Linked DNA regions of Homo sapiens: all the other regions are linked to region 6. The links are contacts of gene promoters, found by promoter capture Hi-C in blood cells and fetal thymus (Javierre and others, 2016). All regions are on one chromosome and are shown on one strand. The core of a region is centred on a gene start or on the middle of the fragment in contact, and the rest is flanking DNA. Distances in the headings are between cores, read along the strand shown.

Region 1 (3,273 bases), core at 377-2,876, 1.0 Mb before region 6:
CCTTTGGGAAAGGAAAAACACACGCACGCACGCACACACACACGCACACACACAGACACACAAACACACAGAGATGCACACACACACAGACATAGACACACACACACACACACACACACAGACACACACAGAAATCCAGGCAATTTTAGAGAATGTGTTTTCCCTTCAGAACAGGGCAGAATGAGTATCACCCAAAACTGAGCAATGTATTACTCAATGTAAACTCATGATTTTCAGAAAATAGTTGCAACAAAATGACCCCCACTTCCTAGTTTCTTGTAAAATGGAAGGAACCATTACATAAAGTAACAGTCAAACATGCTCAAGAATTTTTCAACTTGAGGCCAATGACCTTTGAACTTTGACTGATGGTTTTTTCAATCCCATTGCTGTTCTATTGCCGCAAAAAATTTAACTTGGCTGTGTGTTTATTCAACTTGGACTTCACAATAATGTTCTTTGCAACTCAGGACTGTTAATCTGTGGCTTTTGTATTGGCAACTGTTCTGGCAAGGGTGGAACCCTCGTTTTCCATGACTTTCTAACCTCCTGAATTGCAGCACCTTGGAGGGGAGCTCCAGTGGCCAAGACAGAAGTGGTCCCAGTGATTCTGGGGAGAAAACTGAGCATCTGCTTGCAGACCTGGGGCTCCTGATTAAATCATAGCTATAAATACTTAGGTTTTCATTTATATGCCTTCATGTTACACATTCCTAAGTTGCATGTACAGTTCTGAAGGCTGTGATTACAGGTGGAGATGATGTCGGTGCCATTACTGGGATGCCACAGTGGAAATCAACATGTCAACCTACAAGACTGTAAGAAAACGTCTTAGAAGGCTGGCACTTTCATTCATTTGGTTCACTGCTGTATCCCTAGTGCTGGGAAATGTTCCTGAGCACTCAACAGATTTTATTTGAATGATCATTTTATGAAACTTTGTTTCAATTTTAGGAAACTAAGTTAAAAACCCATTTGAAAGGGGTCAACTTTGAATGTGTCTTTACATTTCTTCCTTAGTTAAGATCCACTCAAGGAGAGATCCGGCACTATTGTGCTCAAGTAATATTGTCTGCACCCGACTCCCCTGAAAAGAAATGAGTCCTGAGGCAGCCAGGCAGATCTTTTAGGATATTCCATCCCACAGGTGAAATACAAACATGCTTCATCCAGGAGATGACTCTAGTTTCACTATAAAAGACCCTTCAACTTTTTTCACGTTAGACTGAAGTGTTTGGTCAGATTTCCTCAGTATGACAAAGGTTACTCTTTTTTTTTTTTTTTTTTTTTGAGATGGAGTCTCGCTCTGGCTCTGTCGCCCAGGCTGGAGTGCAGTGGTGTGATCTCGGCTCACTGCAAGCTCCACCTCCCGGGTTCATGTCGTTCTCCTGCCTCAGCTTCCCGAGTAGCTGGGACTACAGGCGCCCACCACCACGCCCGGCTAATTTTTGTATTTTTAGTAGAGACGGGTTTTCACCGTGTTAGCCAGGATGTTCTCGATCTCCTGACCTCATGATCCACCCGCTTCGGCCTCCCAAAGTGCTGGGATTACAGGCGTGAGCCACTGAGCCTACTTTCTTACCCAGGCTTCCAAAAAGGCTGGAGTTTCCACAGAGATTTATTACTATATGCATCTCATCAAAGGGCTAAGATACTTCTTGACTGTGTATATCAGTACCATGTGGCTGTTTTGGTTCATTTGTACATTTTTGGTTTGCAGTGACATGTCATCAAGGGCCTAAGAACAGAAATTCATTCTGTCTATGTTTTATGAGTTTAGGGGCCTGGAAAATTGCAAGCAACACCCATGCTTCAGGGAGGCCCCAGGACTCAGGAAAGGGGGCAGTCTGTGAGTCCTCCCAGTTTCCCAGCTAATCAATGAAGTGAACAGTGCAAGGCTGTGGAAAAGATGTTCTCTCTGACTTGGGACATGTATAATTTGTTGCACCTGAGACATGTGTAGGAGTTAATGTGGTCAGAGCTCAGAAGTTACAGATTTTGGAGTCATCAGCAAATAGTGATATCTGAAGCCCTGGGCGTGGAGGAGAACACCCAAAGATAAAGCATGTAGAATGAGAAAATAAGAGGGTTGAGGATAGAATGCCTGGAAACACCATAATTTAGGGGGCTGGCAGCAGACGAGGAACCGGCCAAGAACTAGAATAGGACAGCAGGCTGTCACATGGGCATCGTGGAGAGCAGCCTGCACAGTCAGCATTCTTAAATCCTACACACAGACAGAGGAGATGCGGATTGGAAACGGTCCCTTAGAAAGATCACTAGAAGGAAATACATAAAAATATCCACAGGTCTATTCCTGACTAGTGAGATGTCAGGTGGCTTATGTTCTTCTCTCACCATTCTTGCATCTTCCAAATTCTGTACAAGAAACATTAATTACATTTATATTAAAAAGCTATTAAAATATAAAACAAGGCTCTGATCAAGTCTAAAATATTTTATGAGAGCCTGATGAAAAGAGCAAGTAATTATTAATTCACAAGTATTTCAGTGCCTGTGTGCTGGGCACCATGCTAAAGATAAAACAATGAACAAGAGGACAGCTCTGTTGTTTGACAAAAAGGAGCGGAGGCTGGTTTGGCAAGGGAGGGATGTAGGGCTTGTGGGACACAATGGCAGGAGATGAGGCTGGAAAGGTCGTTTGGTGCCAGATTACAATGGACTTTATGTGTCTTGTCAAATAATATGGTCTTTATTCTGAAGGCTACAGAGAGGCTTTTGAGGGGGGCAGTGTTAGGTTTGGAATTGTGCTTTACCTGAAGTTAATTTTCGACTGGATTTTGGCAGTAGTGTGGCTGCTGGCCTGGGGGAGTCCAAGCAGGAGACCAGGAGCACAGGCAGCAGGCAAGTGCAGTAACTGAATGAAGGCAGTGCCCTGAGCACGGGCCAGGCCCAGAGATATTTAGGGGTAGCGTCAATAGGATATGACTGATTGGATGTATGTTGCACGAAGTAGGGCATTAAGAAAAAAAAGGAACAACAAACTTCTTCCTGCTTATCAAAGACCATAATGAGGGCAATGGCCTTTCCTGAAACACGTTCCTTGGGAAGTCAAGCATGAGCATCACAATAGTTTGGAAGCTATCTGCACCCAGCAAGTGAGTTTCCAGTTAGCCTCACGCATGGCAATAGGTGCTTAGGATGCAGGATGCAGGTTCGTGGCCCCGGCCCTGTCTGGCTCCCCTGAAATCACACCACAGAGGCAGCTGCCTTTCGTAAACACAAGGCAGGCAGTGTTAGCTGGTCCAACTA
Region 2 (3,597 bases), core at 1,076-3,575, 1.3 Mb before region 6:
CCCTGCCCTGGCTGACTCTTCACCACTGTACCCTGCAGTAGATGCCTCGCTATGTGTTGGTTCAGATTAAACTCACTTCTTTACTCAGCAAGAGTAATTAGGGAAATTTTCCCATCTTATTATTCATGTATTTGGCATAAACAGCGATCTAGAGTTTTCCTTTGGACTCAGTGAACTCCTTTGCTTGGTTGACTTGCTTCAAAGGTAGAAGTCTTGCTAAAGGAATTTTGCTTCTAAGCAGTGTTCTTCAGGTGCAGAGGGATTCTGTTCTTGGCCTACAACAGGATTTCTTTTTCATAAACATATTTTGCATATAAGTTCTTAGTCACTTTTTTATTGAGACTTTTATCGGCTAAGGGGAGTGGGTTTGACTGTCAGATTTCTCTGGCCGAAATTGTCCTTGCTGGATACTAACTAACGCTGCAGTGTTTCTCCCCAAGAACTCCAGGCAGGCCTCCTGCTTTGCATGTGGCTTGTTCCAATTGGAGAGTGAGCAACAGAAGTACCAACCCCAGAGCCCAGCTGCAGGGACAGCGAAGCACCGTGCAGTGAATGGGACACACACTGAGCATACGTGAAAACCAGTTTGCTCACATTCTGCACCAGGCGACGTGTGCAGACACAGAAGGACTCTGGTTTTGGAGTCCCACACCCACTGATATTGCATTCCCCACCCTGCTGTGCTGCTGCCAGCGCCTGGGCCTCACCCGGGCCCAGCTGTCAGTGGGCCACACATTTGGGAGAAGTTCCAGGGCTGCTCCAGGCAGCCTCAGCCACCAGTTCCTGTTGCTGCTGTCTCCTATTGGCTACCGAATCTGGCCACCTCTCACCATGCTCCATTCCCACTCCTTAGGGCGGAGGCCACGTCTTGCCAGGACCATTGCACCAGCCTCTTAGTTGGCCCCCTTGCTGCCTATATTGGTCCCTGCTACTTTACCCATTCTGCAGCAAGCAAGATTTTTCTAAATCACAAGTCTTACCATGTGATTCTCCTGCTTCATTGTCCAGAGGCTTCCTATTGTTCCCTAGTCTGAACTGCTTAATGGAGTGAGAGGGGGGGGCTTCTCGAAATTGATTGTGCATCTAGTCACCTCAGAATTTTTTTGTTTTTTTTTTTCAGACAGGGTCTTGCTCTGTTGCCTAGGCTGGAGTATGTGGTATGATCACAGTTCACTGCAGCCTTGACCTCCCAGGCTTAAGGATTCTCCTGCCTCAGCCTCCCAAGTAGCTGGGTCCACAGGCGTGCACCACCAAACCTGGCTAATTTGTTGGTTTTTTTGTTTCTCACCACGTTGCCCAGGCTGGTCTCAAACTCCTGAGCTCAAGTGAGTCTCCAGCCTCAGCCCCCTAAAGTGCTAGGGTTACAGGCATGAGCCACCTTGCCCAGCCACCTGGGGATCTTAACATGAAGATTCTGATTCACTAAATCTGCAATTCTGCATTTCTAACAAGCTTCCTGGGAACACCAGTGCTGCCGGTCTTTGTGCTACACTTTGAGGAGTAGGGAACTGAAGGGCCCCTGCTTGCCTCCCTGGCCTCATTTCTTGACACTTCCCCAACTCTGTTCCAGCCATGCCTCAGTTATTCCAGCTCCCAAAGTGCATCCTGCTTTTGCTCACTGCAAAGCCTTTGGACAGGCTGGCCTCCCTCCCCAGAGCACTCTCACCCTGGCCTGGCTGCTCCTACAGGATTGGAGATGGCACTTTGCTTAGAAGCCTTCCCTGATTCTCTAAGCCCTGGAAACAAAGAGCATGTTTGTGGCCTGGGTGAGAATGATCTTTATGCTCAGTGATAAGGGGTGAGAGAGCTGGCCTATAAGGTGCAGGGCAGCAGCCAGAGGTTTCGTTCTACAGCAGGTTCTATGAAGAAAGTTGCTGCGTCACCTGGGAGGTGCCTCTGCCAGGTGCCATCTGCTGAGTCCATTCCTGCCTGAGCAGTAAGGGCTCCTGAGGTCAGGACACTGGCCAAACAAGGTCAGCCTCACAGCTGTGTGTATTCTCAGGTCAACCAAAAGTGCTGTCAGAGTGAGCAAGTTCATTACAGAGCTGTGAAAACCTTTTTAAGAAAGTTCTTTTCCAACCACAGCTTGAGGGAGAGTTACAGACACAAGACTCTGCTGTAGACATTTTACTTCTTATTTTTCTGTCCTTATTTCCTTAAAAAAAAAAACACCTTTTCTCTGGGATGTCCTTCCATTTTCTCTTTCTCAGGTTATGCACTCGGTTTTTTACATCTGTTTCAGTTATAAAATTACTGCTTATGCAGGTTGGAAGTCTGCCATTCCTTGGCTAAAGAAATCCTGAATTTTGCTAGCATGCTCCTGCCAGGATCCCAGCACCAGACTCTCCTGACCCTTTGGGGAGCTGAGAATGGAATCTGAAGCATGAGACATTGCATGGTCATGATGTACTGACCAGACCTGTTTAGCCATGTGATTGCAGCTTGGGTAGGAGCAGTGCCAGTTAGGTCTGGAAAAACTAAAACAACATTAGTTACACAGCAAATAAGTTTAGCAGCCGGGTAACAGCACCCAGGAAATGTTGAAAAGCATGTGACATAAGAAGAGATCTAATGTCGTTGTTTGCTACAAAAAATCTTTCTGCCCTCTAACTGTAAAAGGCGAGGAGTACTTCCTTTCTGGATTTTATTTCCTCTTTTTCTTAAAGGGAACATCCAAAAGAAATGATCCTCCTCTGCTCCCCCATGCCTGCCCTCCTGGGATGTGTTAAGTCTGTTTTGTAGTGTTATAGTTACAGAGGTTGAACAACGGGTCTGCTTAAAACAGATAACTTCATTAAACTGCCAAGTTGAGTGAGATATTCCTGTGTACTCAGTAATTAGTAACTGCTGTAGGAAGTTATATAAGAAAGTGGGAAAATTTGAGACATCAGTTCTTTTCCTCTCCGTCATAGAGAATCATACTCTGCCTTATGGGAAATTGACAGGAATGGACTGGATAAATTGTGGAAGAATATCATTTATGTGAAAGAGGAAAAGGGTTAAGCAAGGGCAACTAAAATGTCTAGCCTTATTCATCTTCTTGAACTGACTTTGAAGCAGTATTTACAACGTCTGAAAGTGAGGCGCTCTGTGCTCCAATGACATCGTCGAATCTCCAGGCCCTTTCTTCATCTGCCCCCTGGTGGACCCAGTGCTGAAAAGAAAATTCAACAGAAAAGCTCCCTGGAGAAAAGCTTGAGTCCAATAAGAAATGGCACCCCTTCTGTGTATCGAGGGGCCTCTACATTCTTCTCTTATCTTCATGAGAATCCTGTAAGATACCAAATAATATTCTCACTTAAAATCAAGCTAATGAGGCCAGGCGCGGTGGCGGACACCTGTCATCCCAGCACTTTGGGAGGCCAGGGTGGGTGGTTCTCGAGCCCAGGAGTTTGAGACCAGCCTGGACAACACGGCAAAACCCTCTCTGTGAAAAATACAAAAATTAGCCAGGCCTGGTGGCATGTGCCTGTAATCCCAGCTACTCGGGAGACTGAGGCAGGAGGATCGCTTGAGCCCAGGAATTTGAGACTGTAGTGAGCTATGAAGTCATCACAGCACTCCAGCCTGAACAACAGAGACCTTGTCTCAGTCCAA
Region 3 (3,494 bases), core at 987-3,486, 1.8 Mb before region 6:
TGGGAGATGGTCTGCAATACCAGGACTTTGATCTTGACCTAACCCTCTAAACTTCCTTCCCTCACCTACTAGTCCCTCTTCATCTCTTACCTCTTAATCACTGTTTCAAAAGCATTTATCACTATCCCACAGTATTTATTTATTGCCTGCTCCCCCATAAGATCTCCAGAGAGCAGGATATTTATGTGTCCTGTTGATTCAAACTCAGCTTCCAAAACAGTACCTGGCTCACACAAGATGCTCAATAAATATTTACCGAATGAATTATAACATCTTACAGTACTCAAGAACTAAGACATATTTTATTGATCAACAAACAAACTAGTAAAATCTCAGGGTCCTTACTTGCCATGGTAGAAAAAAAGAGGAGAGACATATCTGCTCCGCAACTCCTGCTAAATGAGATATGAAAAACGGATGGCTAAGTGGAGATTTTGTAAGAGAAACCAACTTTACTAATTTTTGAGACCACTTCTAAAAACAGGAGTTGCCTGCTCCTTAATATACTGCCTTGTTTATCAGCCTACTGAGCGAAATGTCTGTTACCTACTAATGCCTTCCGCCATTATCTCAGCGCTGCATTCTGAACTAACACACTCAGAGTAGTTTGGTGAAGTGTGGTGCTTTCTTTTAAAATAAAGGAGTGAGCAGGTCATGTGATAAGCAAATACAAACCCTGGGGACAAATGATCATTAACAAATATTCTTATGAAGTTGAGCCACTGCCATTTATCTTACCCCAAAGCGCTTGGGCAATTTCATTAGAATGATGGTATCACTCAGTCAAGCAGTGAGTGTTAAGCTGGGATAGAATAAAGTTCCCTTTAAAGGATTATGAGAAGGAATGTGGAAGAAAGATGGGGCAGTGGGTTTGGCACTGAAGAAGAGAAGCGCTCATTTAAAACACTGTTCTTTCCTACATTCCCTAACCCCCGCCCTAGTGTCCCACAGCGCGCTGAGGATGGCTTTCCTTTTGTTGCAAACCAGTGATTTCTGGCATCCCCCTTCCAAATCACAGAAGCCAGCGGGGACTGCACAACTATAATACGTATCCGCATGGTGGAAGGCAGGATAGGGTGGTGGGAAGGGTACGCGGGCTTGGGGGTGAGGCGCTGGGCCAGGGACCGAAGCAAGTTTCCTCATCGGCAAACGGTCATAAAGTTGCCTCCCACCGAGAACGGCCAGAAGAACCAAGCGGATCGCCAGGACCGTGCGCAGAGCCTGCACGTAGCGAACGCTGTGATTCCCTTCTTCCCCTCCCACGGCAAGCGACACCGAAGGTCTGGGGACACCCTTAGGGTTGTGACTGAGGATGGTTGTCGAGTGACTACAGAGCCCAGTAAATAACGCGCATCTCCTCCAGCACCGCGGAGCGCGGAGCCCGGAGCCCGGAGCCCGCCGCGCGCGGGCGCCGGGGAACGCTCGCGTCCACGGCCGGGCCCGCAGCCCAGCCCCCTGGCTCCCGGCTTCCCGCTTCGACAAGGGCATGCCGCGGCCCCCCGGAGCTCGGGGCGCGGGAGCTGGCACCGGAAGCGGGGAGGGCCGGCGGAGCTGGGCGGCCAGGAGTCGGGTACTTACCCCCGGCGGGCGGCGGGCGGCTGAGGTCGCGGCCAGCCGGCTCCAGGCGGCGGCGAAGTCGGGCGGCTGGGCGCGCGGGCTCCGGCAGACGAGGGCAAACAGGATCCCCAGCAGGAAGGCGGCCGCCGCGCAGCTCAGGTACAGGCTGAGCCTGAACAGGACGGAGCTCAGCCCCGCGGCCCCCGCCGCCTCCCCGCTGCCGGGCCCCAGGAAGGAGAGGGCCACGGCGGCGAGTGCGGCCACCGCCACGGGCTTCCACCAGCTCCGGCCGCCCGGGGCCCCCGGCGCCGCCGCTGCTGCTGCCTCCGCGTCCCCCGGGGACTCCGGCCGCCGCTCGCCCCTGAAGCCCGAGACAGGACGGCCGCCGGCGCCTGCGGCCCGCGCGGGGCTGGGGCCGGCGCCGCCACTGTCGGTCGCATCGGGGTGCATGCTGCTTCCTGGGCCGCTAAGGACAGGCACATCTCCTGCCCCCCGGTCCCCCGCCGGCGCTCCGGAGGCAGGGGGAGCCCGCGCTCATGCCTCGCCCGCGGCCCACCGAGGGAGCGGCCCCCGCAGACGCCGCCGGGCCCCTCTCGGCGACCCCTCAGCGCCGCCACCAGGCGCTGGGCCCGTAGCTGCCGGGCCGGGCGCAGCCAGGGAGCCCCACCGTGTTGTGACTGAAGCCTGGCCAGCCTGACGCGGGCGGGGCGGGGCCGCCCTGAAGTGCGTGTCGGGCGGGGCCCGGAGCCACCGCGGCCGCTGAGTGACAGCCGGGAGGCGCCCACCCACAGCGCGGGGGCGGGGTCCGGGCCGGGGCCCCACGGGGAGAGGGCGCGACCCAGCGCGGTGCACACCTCTCTTTCCCACGCTCCCCTCCTCCTCTACAGGATGCCGTCTGTTCATGGAAAATTTTGCTGCAGGTGTCAGCGGCGCTGGTAATTCCTGAGCTCAGGTGATCCCGTAATTCTCCCTCTCCGCTCATCACTGACGAGTAACCTCTTCGCTTTGCTTACAGCCGGCAAACATTTCTGCCTGGTTTTCACTCGCTATTTAAATAGGCAACCGTTCCCGAGACTCCCTGTCACAGTTTCTAACGACCTTCCCTTTCCCACCCTGCCGCCTTAGGGAAGGAATCAGACACGTGCGGTGGAGTAAGTGAAGCCTGCAATTCCTAGCTATGGAAAGGTCCAAAGAAGTCGGCCTGGTGCAACAGGGTGCACGCAGCTGCCCATAATCACTTTGGCTCCACTTCTGGTTTTTGTTTTGTTTTGTTTTGTTTTTTGTTTTTTACCAACTATTCAGTTCAAATGCTATCAGCCACGCAAAGGAACGTGGTCCAAATAATTTTTAGAGTATATATTTGCCTTTTCTTCTGTCATAGTCCCAGCCAGTAATATACAGATAACGCTTGCTAAGTAGATGCCAATATGCTACTTAAACACTGGCAATTACTGCTAAGACTAATAAAGAAGCAGATGTAGCTTTTGCTTTTAGTATCAATTGGTATTCATGGGCATTTCATTCTTTCTTTCTTTCTTTTTTTCTTTTTTTTTGAGACGGAGTCTCTGTTGCCCAGGCTGGAGTGCAGTGGGGCGATCTCGGCTCACTGCAATCTCTGCTTCCTGGGTTCAAGCCATTCTCCTGGCTCAGCCTCCCGAGTAGCTGGGATTACAGGCACGCACCACCACACCTAGCAAATTTTTGTATTTTTAGTAGAGACGGGGTTTCACCATATTAGCCAGGATGGTCTCAATCTCCTGACCTCGTGATCCGCCTGCCTCAGCCTCCCAAAGTGCTGGGATTATAGGTGTAAGCCACCGCGCCCGGCCTCATTTCATTCTTTCTTAAACCTTCTAAGTCAGAAATGAAGAGTGCCTCATGCTAGATGTGACTTTGCCATGCCAAGGGGATGATCAAAATAAGTTACCAGTTTCCTT
Region 4 (3,269 bases), core at 624-3,123, 1.2 Mb before region 6:
CGTCTGACCACAGCAGCCTCTTCCCTGGTCTCTCCACTTCCAGACCCGCCTGCTCCTTTGCAGTCCACTTTTTACAGCACAGGCAGAGGGATCTTTATGAAATGAAAGTCTAGAAAGCTCGTCCTTTGCCCTTAGGTTAAACCCAGCACTTAATATGGCTAACAAACCCCTGCGTGTGTTGGGTCCTGAGTGCCCCCACCCCTCCTTATCTTTAGCACCGGTTCGATTTCTGCACGGCAATGCTGACCTTCATACCTAGTGTCTGCCTGCAACACCTCTGCACTCCCTTTCTCCCGCCATCACATTTGATTAGAAGAGCTGCTACTTAAATTTCTGTTTTCATTAAACAGTTTAAGGTTAAATCTTCCTATGCTGTGTTCTTTCTGCAGCCAGCATTCCCTAAGAGAGATGTGTCATATCCTTTGCAGTTGCTTGTTTACTATCTTCCCTGCTAGATTTGCAAGCAAACTCCAGGAGGGACGGACTTGGTTTATCTTGGTATCCTTAGTGTCTTGCCCCAAATGCGGGGCCTGGCATAACACAGTGAATGCCCATCCATTGTATTTTTACTTTTATGCCCTATCTAGAAAAAGTAGACCTGGTTTAGGATTATTCAGCAAATAATAATTAGAAAAGAAATGGTAGAGGTGACATACGGAGTCACTGAAACGATGTAAACCTGCAAGATAGCTGAAAGAGGGCCAGGCAAGGTGGTTAGACCAGACTGTATCAAAATGGGCTCAGCCACTGTGAATGTGCGTGCTGTGGTTACATAATCTCTAAAAATGAAATATAAAGCTTAAATCATCTCTATCACAGCCCGATGCTTGGACTTTGGTTTTGCTTTGCCTTTTTGCAAAAGAAGGTTTTTGAAAGTGAAAATTATTTTAGTGAATGGATGAACAGTTTATTGGAGTATGGCAATAAAACCTGTTCAAAGTAAGAGACATTAGACATTGTACCTAGTTAAATCAGATTTGCTTTTGCTATCCTGAATAAAGGCCTTGCCTCTTGCCATTTGAAGAGACTGGCATCTGATATAGGCAATTATAATGCTTCTTTACTGTTTTGTTTTCAAACCTCGTTTAACACAATCTCCTACTGCTTCATCCCCCTACAAAGCAGTCTTTATTTTGATGAATGATATATTACATTGCTTCTGGTGCCTACTATTAGATCTTTAAGCTCTGCCCCAAAGATAAGAAGCACTGGTGTTTGGGCCTAAACAAAGATGGGAGAATTCTTAGATTTATATAATATTCTTTCTCTGCATGTTTTGTTCTTACCTTCACATGTTGCCTGTAGAGCTTCTTTGCATTACAATAATGAAATCAAGCTACCTGATATGTATTGGACACGGTCTGGCATCTGCCTTGTTGAGCCACTTTTGAATACCAGTGAGCATCGGTATAAGCCCTGAATAGAGATAGGGTTTGTCTCTTCCACTGCTTGATACACTCAGGGTCTAGTATAGTACTCTGCACACAGTTGGTGTTCAGTAAATTGTTATGGTGCAAATATCAAATGAATAAATGCTACTGAATCTGAGTTTTGGCAGTTTCAGTCTTCCTGACAGCAGGATTTCTTCAAGCGGTTTTAAACTTGAATCTGATTCTGCAAAGTAGTCATCCTTGGTGGGAGTGCTGAGGCTTTAAAGTCATCTGTAATTTTTATAAAAAGGCATCCGAGATCCTCCATTTTACACTTATATCATACAAATCATTTAGATCTGTGAAGGCTTTCCCATTTTCTCCTTTTGTCCTTCCAAAAACACCATCTTAGGACTTCACCTGGCACAGGGAAGACAGATCGTTTGCACATACTAAGTGCCCTTCTTTCTAACTTGTGTCATAAACTCAGAGGCTTTGAATAGTGGAGAGTGCTCTGTACTGTCTTCCTGGTCACGTGGCCCTTGCCAGAGGAAAGGAAAGGATGGTTTGTTTGTATAGTACAATGGAACTTATTTCAATGTATTCTGTATTTGATTTTACATTCCTGTTCTCATATTTTTACCTTAATTACATAACAAATATTAAAAGATTGACTTCACCAGGCCCAGTTACAATCGCCAGTTTGATAATTCTTATACGTACTCAAATGAATTCAGAGACCAGATGGGAAAAGATTTTGATAAAACCTCTGGTACATCACAACTGAAGTCTTTTCTTGTCCAAACTATTGTGAAACAGATGTTCTTTCTGTTTCATTTGCTAAATCTGGAAACGTGACTGCTTTTGAGACTTTGTCCTCTCTGACAGGTAATAAATATAATCCTGATATTTTTCAAGTTGTTTGACAGAAGTGTAATCTCCCCAGAAGTCCTGCTGGACAGGCTTCACTTTTCCTTTGGAGGAACACAGAGATACAGGGAATATGTTTTAATGACATATACCTAACGCTGAACATGAAACCAGTTATTTTACTTTTATTATTATTATTTTTAGAAACAGCCTTGCTGTGTCACCCAAGCTCAAGTGCAGTGGTGCGATCATAGCTCACTGCAGCCTCCAATTCCTATGCTCAAGTAATCCTCTTGCCTCAGCCTCCTGAGTAGCTGGGACTACAGGTGTGTGCCACCATGCCAGGCTACTTGTTTTTACTTTGTTATAGAGATGGGGTCTCTCTGTGTTGCCCAGACTGGTCTTGAACACATGATCTCAACCATTCCTCCCACCTTGGCCTCCCAAAGTGCTGGGATTACAGGCGCGAGCCACTGTGTCTGGCCTATTTCACTTTAGAAGTAAATTGAATGCCACATGCGAAGTTTGTTAAATTTTTTTAAAAAAGGAAAGAAAACACAAAAGTAAACTACCTAGTCGCATCAGAAATGCCATAGTCATTTTTGCCATTTTTTCATTCATTAGAATTCAGTGCATTATGTTATTTTGTTATCTCTGCAGTAACTTTCTATCATGTTATTTATTTTCTTTGTCTTATTTAAAGCTTCTGAGATTATGGATTTTTGTTTCCTTCCCTGAAGTTAAGTGTTATCATTCCTATATAGTACTAAGCTGTCTACAGAATAGTGGGAGTCTGCCCTCTTGAGTTGGGAAGATCCTAGTTTGAATCTTGGCTGTGCGACTTTAAAGTTCATTAACTTCTCTTAGCCTCAGTCACCTGAACTCTGCAGTGGGGATCCTTATGCCTCAGAGTGTCATTGGGAGGACTCACGAAAATACGCTTGTACTTTGAGTTCAGTACCTAGCCTGTATGAGCCAGCATTAAGAGGGACAGTCATCACGCAGCGCTTTGCACACAGCTCTCACGCC
Region 5 (3,753 bases), core at 425-2,924, 1.7 Mb before region 6:
TTGTACTTGTCCTTGAAGGCGAAGTTGAGAGCTTGGGTGGGGAAGTAACGGATCACGTTGGCCAGGTTACCCCTCCAGAAGGAGAGGAAGCCCTGCTCCTTAGGGATTCTCACCACACAATCAATGATCCCTTTGTACTGCTTCTCAGCACTGATCTGTTTGCTGGCATGCTGGACCTGGTGGAGGGGAGGGTGGGTGACAGAGGACAGGCAGGGTAGAGAGAAGGGAAGAGGACAGGAGAAAAAAAAAGGTTTGCACTTCCTAGATTTTTTTTTTGAAGAAAAAAAGGATGAGGAAATCAAATGGATACTGAGGACGTGTAAATGGATACTGTTATCCATGTTAGTTACTGGATAACAAGCCAAAATAATCCAATGTTGCTTCAATTATTAGGGTATTTGAGGGAAAAGGTATTGCCCCAAATAAACTGAAAAGGTGATTGAATTATATAAAGCTATAGCCATTTATTTATTTCACTTTCCCTAGGTTTGAGAACTGTATGAGGGGCTTACTGGGGGACAGAAATGAGTAACACTCCCTGCTTCAAAGGGCTTTGGATTTAATAGACATGATGGCCAAAAAATGACAATTTCTCAGTGTCACTCTGATCACCCTGGAGATGAGGATCTCTACTAGATGCTCTAATAGAGGAAGGAGAATAAATCCACTAAACATTAGGCCTCCAAAGTTTTCAAGCAGATAATCCAAGTAATCAATTATTAAGGGTTTGCTGCCGTTGTGAGCAATTTGTGGGGGTTTTGTTGTTAGTAATTCTGACTCCCAAATTGGGCTCTTCCTCATTGAGGGGCCCTGACCTTTTGGGCAGGTGGAGGAAAACACGAGAGGATGATAAACCATTCAGCGACCAGGTAGGGGAGGAAAAGATTTGGAGACAGGATGATCTGAGTTTATTCCGAAAATTGTTTCTTAATATTTCAAAACCTCAGCTTCATCTGTAAAATGGAGAAGAATAACTCTCTCACAGAGGTTACATAAAGATGAAGGCGTCAGCCTACATACAGCATTGTGCATGAGATACGATAAGGGAATTCTTGGGTGATGATTATTTTGATGTTTTTATTGTAAAGGTGCGTGCGCATAAGACGGTGCCAAAAATACTGGCAATCACTAGGTGCCTCCGGGCCTGAGTGCACGCCCGTGCTGTCACGGGCGCAGGATCTGGCACACGTAAACCGGCTCCGGGTGGGTTTCCATATATAGACACCCGAACGCCGGGCGCCACCCGACACCAGGAATCTGCGACTGACGCTGGACCTGTCTCTACGCAGAGGGCACCTTCTTCCCCCGCGGGCGGGCGGGCGGGCGGGCGGGCGCCCGGGCCTGTGGCCTGGCGCAGATTTTCCGCGGCGCCCCGCGCCCTGCAGCTCGCGCCGCATCGCGCGCCCCGCCCGGCCCGCCGCGCCCGCGCCCGCCTCTTGCACCGCGCGGTCCTCACCTGCAGCAGCAGTTTGACCCTCTCGATGGGGGCGACCGCGGTCTTGGAGACGGCAGCGGCGACGCCCCCGGCCAGGAAGTCCTTTAGGAAGCTCCAAGCGTGATCACCCATGGTGACAGCTCGACGCTCTCAGCCCGCAGGCAGCCCGTTCGTGCTCTCGCCCACGCCCGGCCTGGCACCGCCGCGCAGTCCCCGACCCTGCGCGACGCTAGGGGGCCGCCGCCTGGCCCGCAGCTCCCCCTTATATCCCCGCCGGGCTCTCGCGAGAGGAGGCGGGTCGCGGCCGGCGCTCGCGCCGCGCATTGGCTGGGCAGGTGCGGGGCGCCCCCTCCTCCCAGCTGCAGAGGGCATCGGGGGCGAAGGCGCTTCCGGGAGCGAGGCTGGGCCGGGGGCTGTCCCTGCAACTTGGGACGTTTAAAGGGCACATTCATGTTATCTGTCCCGCCGAGCCCAGGGAACACCGTGTCACCGCGGCATGTGGGCCGCGTATTTATAGCACAGGCAGCCTTAGGCCGGGGCGAAGCCGGGGCAGACACCGGGCCGCTGCCGCCGGTGGAGAGTTCTTGACCCTCCGGCCTGCACGGGCCGCGCTCAGGCCCAGGGATTTCGAGCTGTTTCCTCCTTCTTGCATCTAAAGGCGCCCCCCACCAGAGCTCACTGCCTGGATATGGGCCTCTTTAGAGCCGTGCGCTCCCGAGAATAAATGGCAGTCCTCTCAAATAGATACTAAGGTCACCTGATGCTGTGATTGCCTCATAGAATCTGACAACCTGCTGCCTCTCATTTCTTTTCATTCAATCGTTCGTTCAGTCATTCATTCTGCTATTACATATTGATGTGTCTGGCACTCAGTGCCCACAGGAAAGACCTGGTGCAGGGGGCCACTAGGTGAATTCATACTTGTTTCTGCAAAACTCTGTGACTCTAAAACACAGGACACTTCTTTTGTAAGCCCCTAAAGGGTTCAATGTACCACTCTGCTCTCAGCGGAATTTCAGCACATATTAGGGCAGAATGTTCTGTCTGTCAGCCGGTGCCTTCTTGAGGGTCAGTGCTGTCAGCCTTCCGGAGATCCAGTCCTTGGCTGTATTTGCCTCTTTTTAATGACAGCTGGGGTTGAGGAAATGCTATTTAATCCCAGGAAATTAATTGCAATTAATTTCTTAAAATATATAAATCTGAGCTTTAATTTTCCTTAGCTTGTTTTTTAGGCAGTTCATGTAACCATACAGGTTTTCAAATACAACTGTTCCTTCCCCTAGAATGACTGCAATTCGTTTTTAACTTTAAACTCTTCACTCAATTATCTTCCCATGTTTGCTAATTTTCATTTGTACCTTTAACAAAGTTTATTCATTGTTTTATAAACTTTTTTTTTTTAATATTTGCTGACATCATGTTAGAGGTTTACGGAGCTGCAGCTGCGTGTCACCCTGGGCGTGGAGACTTTGGTATAGCAGAAGTCACTAAGGTTCCAGGGCCACAGAGGGCATGCGTTTATCTAAGAGTGGGGCAGGCTAGAGTTCCGAAATCCAGGTAAGCAGAATGAAAGCTAGAAACTAGTGGAAAGCTGCCAGAGGTCAGAGCAGACAGAAGTCAAGAACTCGGAAGAGACAAACAGATAAACCATGTATGTGTTCATTCAACAGACTCTTGCTGAGCATGTACTGTGTACCAAGAACTAGGTGTAGCCCTGTGGATTGAATATAAGTAGACGTGGCCCATCTCCAAAGACCTTACAGTTCAGTGTATTCGTCACTTGCTCCACTTTATCAAAACTTCACTTACTGATTTCCATGGATCAGCATAATCCACACAGTAAACCTTTTTAATTATAATAGTGTACTGTATCCCATCCTGTAATATAGAGCACTTGCTTTTATACCTCCATTTTCCTTTTAATTGTGCATTAGAATTGTGTCTTATTTTTATGATGAAAAATAGGCCGGGTGTGGTGGCTCATACCTTTGGGAGGCTGAGGCTGGCAGATTACCTAGGTCAGGAGTTCGAGACCAGCCTGGCCAACATGGCAAAACCCCATCTCTACTAAAAATACAAAAATTAGCCTGGCGTGATGGCTCATGCCTGGAATCCCAGCAGCTCAGGAGGCTCAGGCACGAGACCCCCGAGAGGCAGAGGTCATGGTGATCTGAGATCACTCCACTGCACTTCAGCCTGGGCAACAGAGAAAGACTCTGACTCAAAAAAAAAAAAAGAAAGAAAGAAAGAAAGAAAGGAAGGAAGGAAGGAAGGAAGGAAGGAAGGAAGGAAAACTAATACTGCTACATTGAAACTTA
Region 6 (3,322 bases), core at 24-2,523:
ATATTAAAAAAATAACAGCATCAGACAACAGTGGACACTTCAAAATCTAAAGCAGTCAAAGCAAACTATCAAATTCAAAGCCTAAAGACACAGATATATACTTTAGGTTTAACATTCCAACTTTATTACTTATTAATAACATAAAAATTCTGGCTTGTTAAAAAAATTAGTAACAATAATTCCTAATTATATCAAACTTATGCTCTAAACTCCTATGTATGTTCACATCTATGATCTGCTAACCATTGCTACTCGATATCCCTCTTTTCTTCACCTTGGCAACCAGTTCATCTCTTGTTGTATAGGTTGGAGCATCTGTCACTTTGATGCCTTCAGCCATACTAAGTATTTTATCCATAACTTTTTGAGGGTATCTGAAAAAGAAGGAAAAGTCATTTTTAAAAAGTGTTTTTTCTAAGGTCCTACTTGTGCAAAAAACAGGCCACAGGGACTGCATTTCCTGGCTGCAATCAAGAAAGTGAACCAACCGCCAAGAACTGTTTCCTGGAACCCCATAAACAAGTGCCCCAGGGTCTGGGAGGCAGGGCACCTCCTCACTAATCTTAAATCTCGCACCCGTCCCCAAGAGCGTTGTTCCCTAACACAAGCAACCCTACCAGCAGCTGCGCCCACACCACCGGGCACACAGACGTCCGGGAATCATGTCGGCTCCTCGCAGGGACGCCCTTCTCCCCCTTAGAGGGCAGCCGGGCCGGCGGATTCCCGCGCTTCACAACTTCCCCTCCCCGCCGAGGCCGGTCCCGCGGAGGGCGCCGGGCCCCGGTCTGCAGGTGGCACACAAAACGAGGCGTGCTGGTTAGGGACGCTGCCTCACTCACCGGCACCCGAGGAAGACGTGGTTCGCCCAGGCCATGGAAAAGGAGATGAGCTGCTGCAGCTGCCGGTTTCGGGTCCCGCTCTCGGCGTCGGCAGCTTCATCCGTGCTAGCGGAGGCAGCGCCGCCAGCGGGGGCCAGGTCCCCGGCGTTGCGAAGCAAAAAATCCCGGCGGTGGCGCCAGTGTTTGTCAGTCTCGCCGTCGCAGCGCAGCGCCTCCACCCAGGCTGCCACCCGCGGGTTCTGGCTCAGGTACTCCGACACCTCCTGCGCCATGTTGGGCCTGCAGGCCGCGAACACAGCTGCACCGGGAGACAGGCAGGACTAGCGGGGCGAGCGGCCCTGTCACTGCGGCCTGCACCCGCGGCCCTCCAGATAACGCCCCTCCGCAGGCCTAAAGACCAAACAACAGCGCCCAGAGCCGCCGAACCGCCCACTTCCGCCCACCGCCGGCTTCTTCCCTTTTATAACCTCGCCGCCGCCGCGCGCCCTCGCGTTCTTCCGGCGCGAGCCGGCGCTCCCAAGACGCTTTGCGGCGCCGGGGCCGCTGCGACGCTGCGTCCCCGTGAGGCCACGGAGGGCACCCCGGGGGTGAGGTGGGCGGGCGTCGGGCGTCTCCCGCCCCACGAGGGCGGACTGCAAGTCGAGCTGGCCTGGGACGACCGAGTCTCGGCGGAACCCCGGGCGTTCTGTCCTCGCTTTGTGACGCCGCGCGCTCCTGCCGTCCTCCTCCCCCGCCGGGTCAGCTGCGGCGCCGGGAGCAGAGGCGAGAGGGGCAGGGCCCGGGCAAGGGAGGCAGCCGGGCGCGGCGGCCAAAGTCCGCTAGGGGGGCGTCCCGGGGGACCTTGAGCCGCCCGCAGCCGCGGGGCCTGTGGTCTCCGCCCTGAGACGCCTGTGTGTGAGCGGGGCCAAAACAAACAAAAGCCGGCCTCCATGTTAGAGTGTTGGGAGCTGCGTCTCGCGCTGCTTTCAGTGTGCCCGAGCGAAGCGTTCCGAGGCCGTCGGGGTCTCCGCGCCTTCAGGAGGGCGGGAGTGCCAGTCCCCTTACATAGCAGCAGTAGACAGTAAGGTCACACGAGGACCTGGCTCCGTGTTGCCGTGAGGCTTGCAGCCTTCGAAGCTGGCCCTGGCCCCGCAGCGGTAGGGCTTGTTCCCGCAGTTTATTAGGTCTCTAGTTAATCCAGGCATTGCCTTCCTGTTCTGGTCAGTAGGAAAACAACACCCCGACAACGCTCTGTCTCTAGAATTTCCTAAAATCAACAGCTTTACCACCAACCGGCAGATGTCCGGAGGTGGAGTGGAAATGTACCTATTTATCTATAGGGCCCCAAACCTCTCTCCCTGTTAGAGCTGTTTTTTCCTTCTATATATTTTTTTCCACTTTACATTTCCCACAGTTACGTACTCTAACTGCTGGCTGGCTTATTGTTACGTTTCCCATTCCAGGTATACATGCACTGTAAGATAAATACGTTAAATGATATAAATTATGAAATTTTTCTTTCAATAAATGTAGACTTTGATGTAAAAATGCATGAATCAGAATAAGCAAGCAAAAAAAGGTCACTTTAGGTAAGATCAGATAAGGTTAACTGTGTAATTTATGTGCATGCTGGAACAAAATACAGCTATTGTATGAAAACAATATTGCCCATTTTCCTGCCATACCAAAAGAAACTACATAAAAACGGAGGCACAAAGAAATTTTGAAGCTTTGTGATTTTGCTTCTAGTTTGCTGTTCTTTCCTCCTTTTCACAGATAATTGCTGAAAATCTAGAGGGGGTGGACGGATTGCAGAAATCTGGCTATTTAAAAGGTGGAGAAATTACGATTTCTCCTTTCATGAATTCTTTGGCAAGGGGACCATGGCAAGTAAAAGAAGCTATGATCGCATACCTAGATTATATATGTGCATTTTAAATCAAGAATGTTCTCACGGCCAGGTGCAGTGGCTCACGCCTGTAATCCCAGCACCTTGGGAGGCCGAGGCGGACGAATCATGAGGTCAGGAGTTCGAGACCAGCCTGGCCAATGTAGTGAAACCCCATCTCTACTAAAAATACAAAAGTTAGCCAAGTGTGGTGGCACGTGCCTGTAGTCCCAGCTACTCTGTAGGCCGAGGCGGGAGAATCGCTTGAACTCAGGAGGCAGAGGTTGCAGTGAGCCGAGACCAAGCCATTGCACTCCAGCCTGGGTGACAGAGTGAGACTTCATCTCAAAAAATAATAATAATAATGTTCTCACTTTTTTTCTTGTTGCCCTGTAGTCTTCTTCCCACTCATGGGCTTCATTGCCTTGAAAGGAGAACAAGTAGAGCCTGAATTTCAAACAATTTTTTTAATTATAATAAAAGCGATAGAGTCTGAAAGATGGAGTACTTGTGCAAAAACCAGGTGCTTGGAATAAAAGATACATGCATTTTTCTTTTTTGATTCTTAAAAAGTTGACTTTGCATATAAAGATTCAAAGACTATGAACCACAAGTA
Region 7 (3,411 bases), core at 625-3,124, 1.7 Mb before region 6:
TCAGGAGGCTGAGGCAGGAGAATTGCTTGAACCCAGGAGGTGGAGGTTGCAGTTAGCCGAGATCACGCCACTGCACTCCAGCCTGGCGACAGAGCGAGACTCCGTCTCAAAAAAATGATAATAGTAATAATATCTGAATTCCTTGTTATTGCCTAACAGACTCCAGATCAGTAATTCTCATCCCAGGCAGTGCATTAATATCACCTAGAGAACTCTTAAAACAAATACTGATGCCTAGGCTCTGCACACAGGGATTCTGATGCATTTGGTCTAGTATGCTGTTGAGATTGGTGACAACCATTGCTGTACGTTGTATGGATATTGCTGGCCTTTTCGACCTGATGTTGAATTACTGAGTTCCAGTCACACTTTGTTGTTGTTGCCGCTCCTGTTGTAAGGACACTCCGGGTTTTTTCCCGTTGGTGAGGCACTTGCATTGCTGTGGCCCTTTTTCTTTGCAGAGGGCTCTGCTTCTCCCTGTTTCTCAAGTCTCTGCCAGGGAGAGCCTTTTTCTAGACATCTATCTTTGGGAGCTTTACACTCCCCATGCCTCTCTGTGTCGCAAAAGCTTGTTTCTCTCCATCGGGATACTTACTAGACTCTGAAATTAGTTAGTTTGCTTGTGTGTCCCATTGCAGTGAATGAAGGCAGGATCTTATTTCTTGTTGGAATTTCCAAATACAGGCACATAATAGACAGTATTTGTAGACTGAAGGGACTGTCAGGAAACTGCTTCTGTTGCACAGCTGTGCTGGTTAGGAAACATATTTCATATGTTCATGGAAATTTCATTTTATAACAGTTGCCCATTCCTGTTAAAACTTGCCATCTGAAATACATAGAATAAGTCTGTGCATCCTTCTGCATTATAATCTTTAAGACATTTGATTAATATTCTCCCCTGGGTAAAATCTCCAATTTTTAATCAAGCCATCTGGGGTAACAATTTTCTTGTAATTCTTTTTTCTTATAATTCTTATGGCCACTTTCCAGTCTGTGTGTTCATTAGTTAAGCTAGAGCATACGATTCGCTAGGTGGATGATTTATTGGGTTGACAGACAGCAGGCTGCAGCTCTCTCCTGCTCTTCTGGATTTCCAGCACCAACCTCAAGTGCTCTAACACAACGATTTTTAAACATTTTGGTCTTAGGACACTTTTACATTCATAAAAGTTATTGAGGATTCTGAAGAGCTTTTGTTTATATAGGTTATAGCTTATATCTGTAAATATTTACCATATTAGAAATTACACATTTTTAAAATATTGATTTGTTTAATAGTAGTAATAAACTCATTATGTAGTTGCCATATAATGTAAGTAATGTATGTCATGAAAAAGGTGTATATCCAAAAAAATTAGTGATTTTTGCTAATCACTAGCATCTGGTTTAATAGAATGTAGCTGGATTCTCAAATCAGCTTCTGCTTATAATCTATTATAATCTATATATCATTGGCTAAAGGATGTATAGAAAATATGCCATATGCAAAATGTTCAAAAATGAAGGAGTATTTTAATAACCTTTTCAGTTACTTGTGGATTTTTTTATACCACAAGTCGTATTTTCTTTTCTGTTGTTGTTGTTTTTTGAGACAGAGTCTCACTCTGTTGCCCAGGCTGCAGTGCAGTGGCGCGAGCTTGGCTCACTGCAACCTCTGCCTCCCGGGTTCAAGCAATTCTCCCACCTCAGCCTCCTGAGTAGCTGGGATTACAGGCGCCCTCCACCACGCCTGGCTAATTTTTGTATTTTTAGTAGAGACGGGGTTTCACCATGTTGGTCAGGCTGGTCTGGAACTCCTGACCTCAGGTGATCCACCTGCTTCGGCCTCTCAAAGTGCTGGGATTACAGGTGTGTACCACCTCGCCTGGCCCACAAGTAATAGTTTCTTAGATGTTAGTTGCAATGTGAAATCTGAAATTAATCTCAGTTAACTTTTAATCGTGAATTTCAAGTCTGTTATGTTAAAACATATTGATCTTTCTTGATTGATTTTTAATGTATATTTTACCTATGCCTGGTTTTGGAATGTGACATATTGGGTATTTGGAAAATATTGTTTCACTGAGCTTACAAATGTTGGCAGGCCAGGTACAGTGGCTACGCCTGTCATCCCAGCACTTTGGGAGGCAGACGTAGGCAGATCACTTGAGCCCAGGAGTTTGAGACCAGCCTGGGCAACATGGTGAAACCCTGTCTCTACAAAAAATACAAAAATTAGCTAGGCATGGTGGTGTGTGCTACTGTAGTCCCAGCTGCGGGGGGAGGTTGAGATAGGAGGATCTCTTGAGCCAGGGAGTTGGAGGTTGCAGTGAACTGAGATCACGCCACTCCATTCCAACCTAGGAGACAGAGTAAGACCCTGTCTCAAAAAAAAAAAAAAAAAAAAAGGTTGGCAAATTTCAGAATACATTATATAGAAATCATAGTTGTTAATATCACTACCAGCCTCATCAGAAAGCTCTTGAGAAGCTGTCAAACTCATGGTGGCAGATACAAGTTTACCTAAAATACTATTTTTTGCTAAAAAGCTCAAATTTTATTATTGGTAATAAATACTGTCAACTGTTTTCCTTGAAGTGACAGAATTGTTCTTTAAAATTATATTTGTAATGCAAAAATTGGATGGTGGTTGAAATTAAATCATAAAATATCATGAGATAATGCAGATTGCTCACTAATATTGTGTAATAACATATATCTTGATATATTTGCCTTTTTTCTTGTGCATCAAATTTCTATTGCTGCATTGCTCTTCGTTCATAATTCTTACTGTGATTTGTATGTGTTGAACCCATTTCCTGTTCAGAAAAAAAAAAGTACAGCTCACTGCCAGCACTCATTTCTTGGGGCAAATGGGAAACGTGTTAAAAAGTTGCAGCCTATTGTTTGGCATTAAAAAGTATTGTTCTTATAAAATTAGGTTAAAAATGGGTTGAAAAGAGAAATGTTCTAGAAGATAAATTAAAATGTTCAATATGTCTAGTGGGCTTTATTTTTTAAATATGGGCTTGTTTGACTAAATCATAATTTTTATTTTTAAGGGGACACTTCCGTTTTTTAAAATCTTGTAAGTACTATTTGTTCCCACAAATTATAAACCCCACTGTATCCTAGGAAAGAGGATTAAAAAACGAGCATACAAAAGGAAGGTATTGTTTCAGCCAATAAAAAGCTTCTTACAGGAAGAAAACACTCAACTCTTAGAATTGTCAAGTTTTTAAAAACCATCTAATAGAAAATAGTCTGATTTCTGGGCTTTTTGTTCAGAGTCATCAGTGATTATCCAGGATTTTGAATACAAGAAGGGAATTCCGAATGAAACAATATTTCTCATATAACAGGTCACCCAAAGACACGCTAGACTTCAGGGTTGATTGAGTGGCTCAAAACTTCATCAGGGACCTACTT

What was found. The method cuts DNA at HindIII sites, captures the fragments that hold promoters and counts their contacts. A CHiCAGO score of 5 or more calls a contact.
Region 1: a contact is called between a fragment that was not itself captured here and the fragment with the promoter of CDKN2AIP in region 6, in 1 of 17 cell types (fetal thymus). The highest score is 8.2, in fetal thymus.
Region 2: a contact is called between a fragment that was not itself captured here and the fragment with the promoter of CDKN2AIP in region 6, in 1 of 17 cell types (fetal thymus). The highest score is 6.5, in fetal thymus.
Region 3: the fragment with the promoter of SNX25 here is called in contact with the fragment with the promoter of CDKN2AIP in region 6 in 2 of 17 cell types (naive CD8 T cells and non-activated CD4 T cells); the score reaches 7.9 in naive CD8 T cells.
Region 4: a fragment that was not itself captured here is called in contact with the fragment with the promoter of CDKN2AIP in region 6 in 2 of 17 cell types (fetal thymus and naive CD8 T cells); the score reaches 6.1 in fetal thymus.
Region 5: a contact is called between the fragment with the promoter of SLC25A4 here and the fragment with the promoter of CDKN2AIP in region 6, in 1 of 17 cell types (naive B cells). The highest score is 5.5, in naive B cells.
Region 7: a contact is called between a fragment that was not itself captured here and the fragment with the promoter of CDKN2AIP in region 6, in 1 of 17 cell types (naive CD8 T cells). The highest score is 6.7, in naive CD8 T cells.

Annotation. Positions count from the first base shown.
Region 1 is chr4:184,476,722-184,479,994 of GRCh38, reverse strand. IRF2-DT (IRF2 divergent transcript) reads right to left here. Exons shown (of 1, transcript NR_186573.1): 1 at 2,691-3,273. Among named protein-coding and RNA genes, the nearest start is that of IRF2-DT, 3.6 kb to the right of the region's middle. The HindIII fragment of the contact is 7,393 bases long and covers 1-3,273 here.
Region 2 is chr4:184,745,487-184,749,083 of GRCh38, reverse strand. No RefSeq gene overlaps it. Among named protein-coding and RNA genes, the nearest start is that of CENPU, 13 kb to the right of the region's middle. RefSeq lists an enhancer at 1,240-1,741. The HindIII fragment of the contact is 1,742 bases long and covers 1,455-3,196 here.
Region 3 is chr4:185,208,340-185,211,833 of GRCh38, reverse strand. It overlaps SNX25 (sorting nexin 25), which reads right to left and starts at 2,236. Exons shown (of 19, transcript NM_001378034.2): 1 at 1,579-2,236. The coding sequence starts at 2,007. It also overlaps a transcript of CFAP97 not described here. RefSeq lists silencers at 1,428-1,617, 1,688-1,847, 1,958-2,537. The HindIII fragment of the contact is 7,757 bases long and covers 1-3,494 here.
Region 4 is chr4:184,645,049-184,648,317 of GRCh38, reverse strand. The region is part of intron 2 of CASP3 (caspase 3); the gene reads left to right. Among named protein-coding and RNA genes, the nearest start is that of CASP3, 2.8 kb to the left of the region's middle. The HindIII fragment of the contact is 2,145 bases long and covers 801-2,945 here.
Region 5 is chr4:185,141,187-185,144,939 of GRCh38, reverse strand. It overlaps SLC25A4 (solute carrier family 25 member 4), which reads right to left and starts at 1,674. Exons shown (of 4, transcript NM_001151.4): 1 at 1,457-1,674; 2 at 1-176. The coding sequence starts at 1,567. RefSeq lists a silencer at 1,603-1,902. The HindIII fragment of the contact is 6,667 bases long and covers 1-3,753 here.
Region 6 is chr4:183,442,587-183,445,908 of GRCh38, reverse strand. CDKN2AIP (CDKN2A interacting protein) reads right to left here and starts at 1,273. Exons shown (of 3, transcript NM_017632.4): 1 at 840-1,273; 2 at 244-374. The coding sequence starts at 1,111. RefSeq lists an enhancer at 819-968 and a silencer at 1,249-1,798. The HindIII fragment of the contact is 3,011 bases long and covers 1-2,549 here.
Region 7 is chr4:185,184,613-185,188,023 of GRCh38, reverse strand. The region is part of intron 2 of CFAP97 (cilia and flagella associated protein 97); the gene reads left to right. Among named protein-coding and RNA genes, the nearest start is that of CFAP97, 18 kb to the left of the region's middle. The HindIII fragment of the contact is 2,607 bases long and covers 571-3,177 here.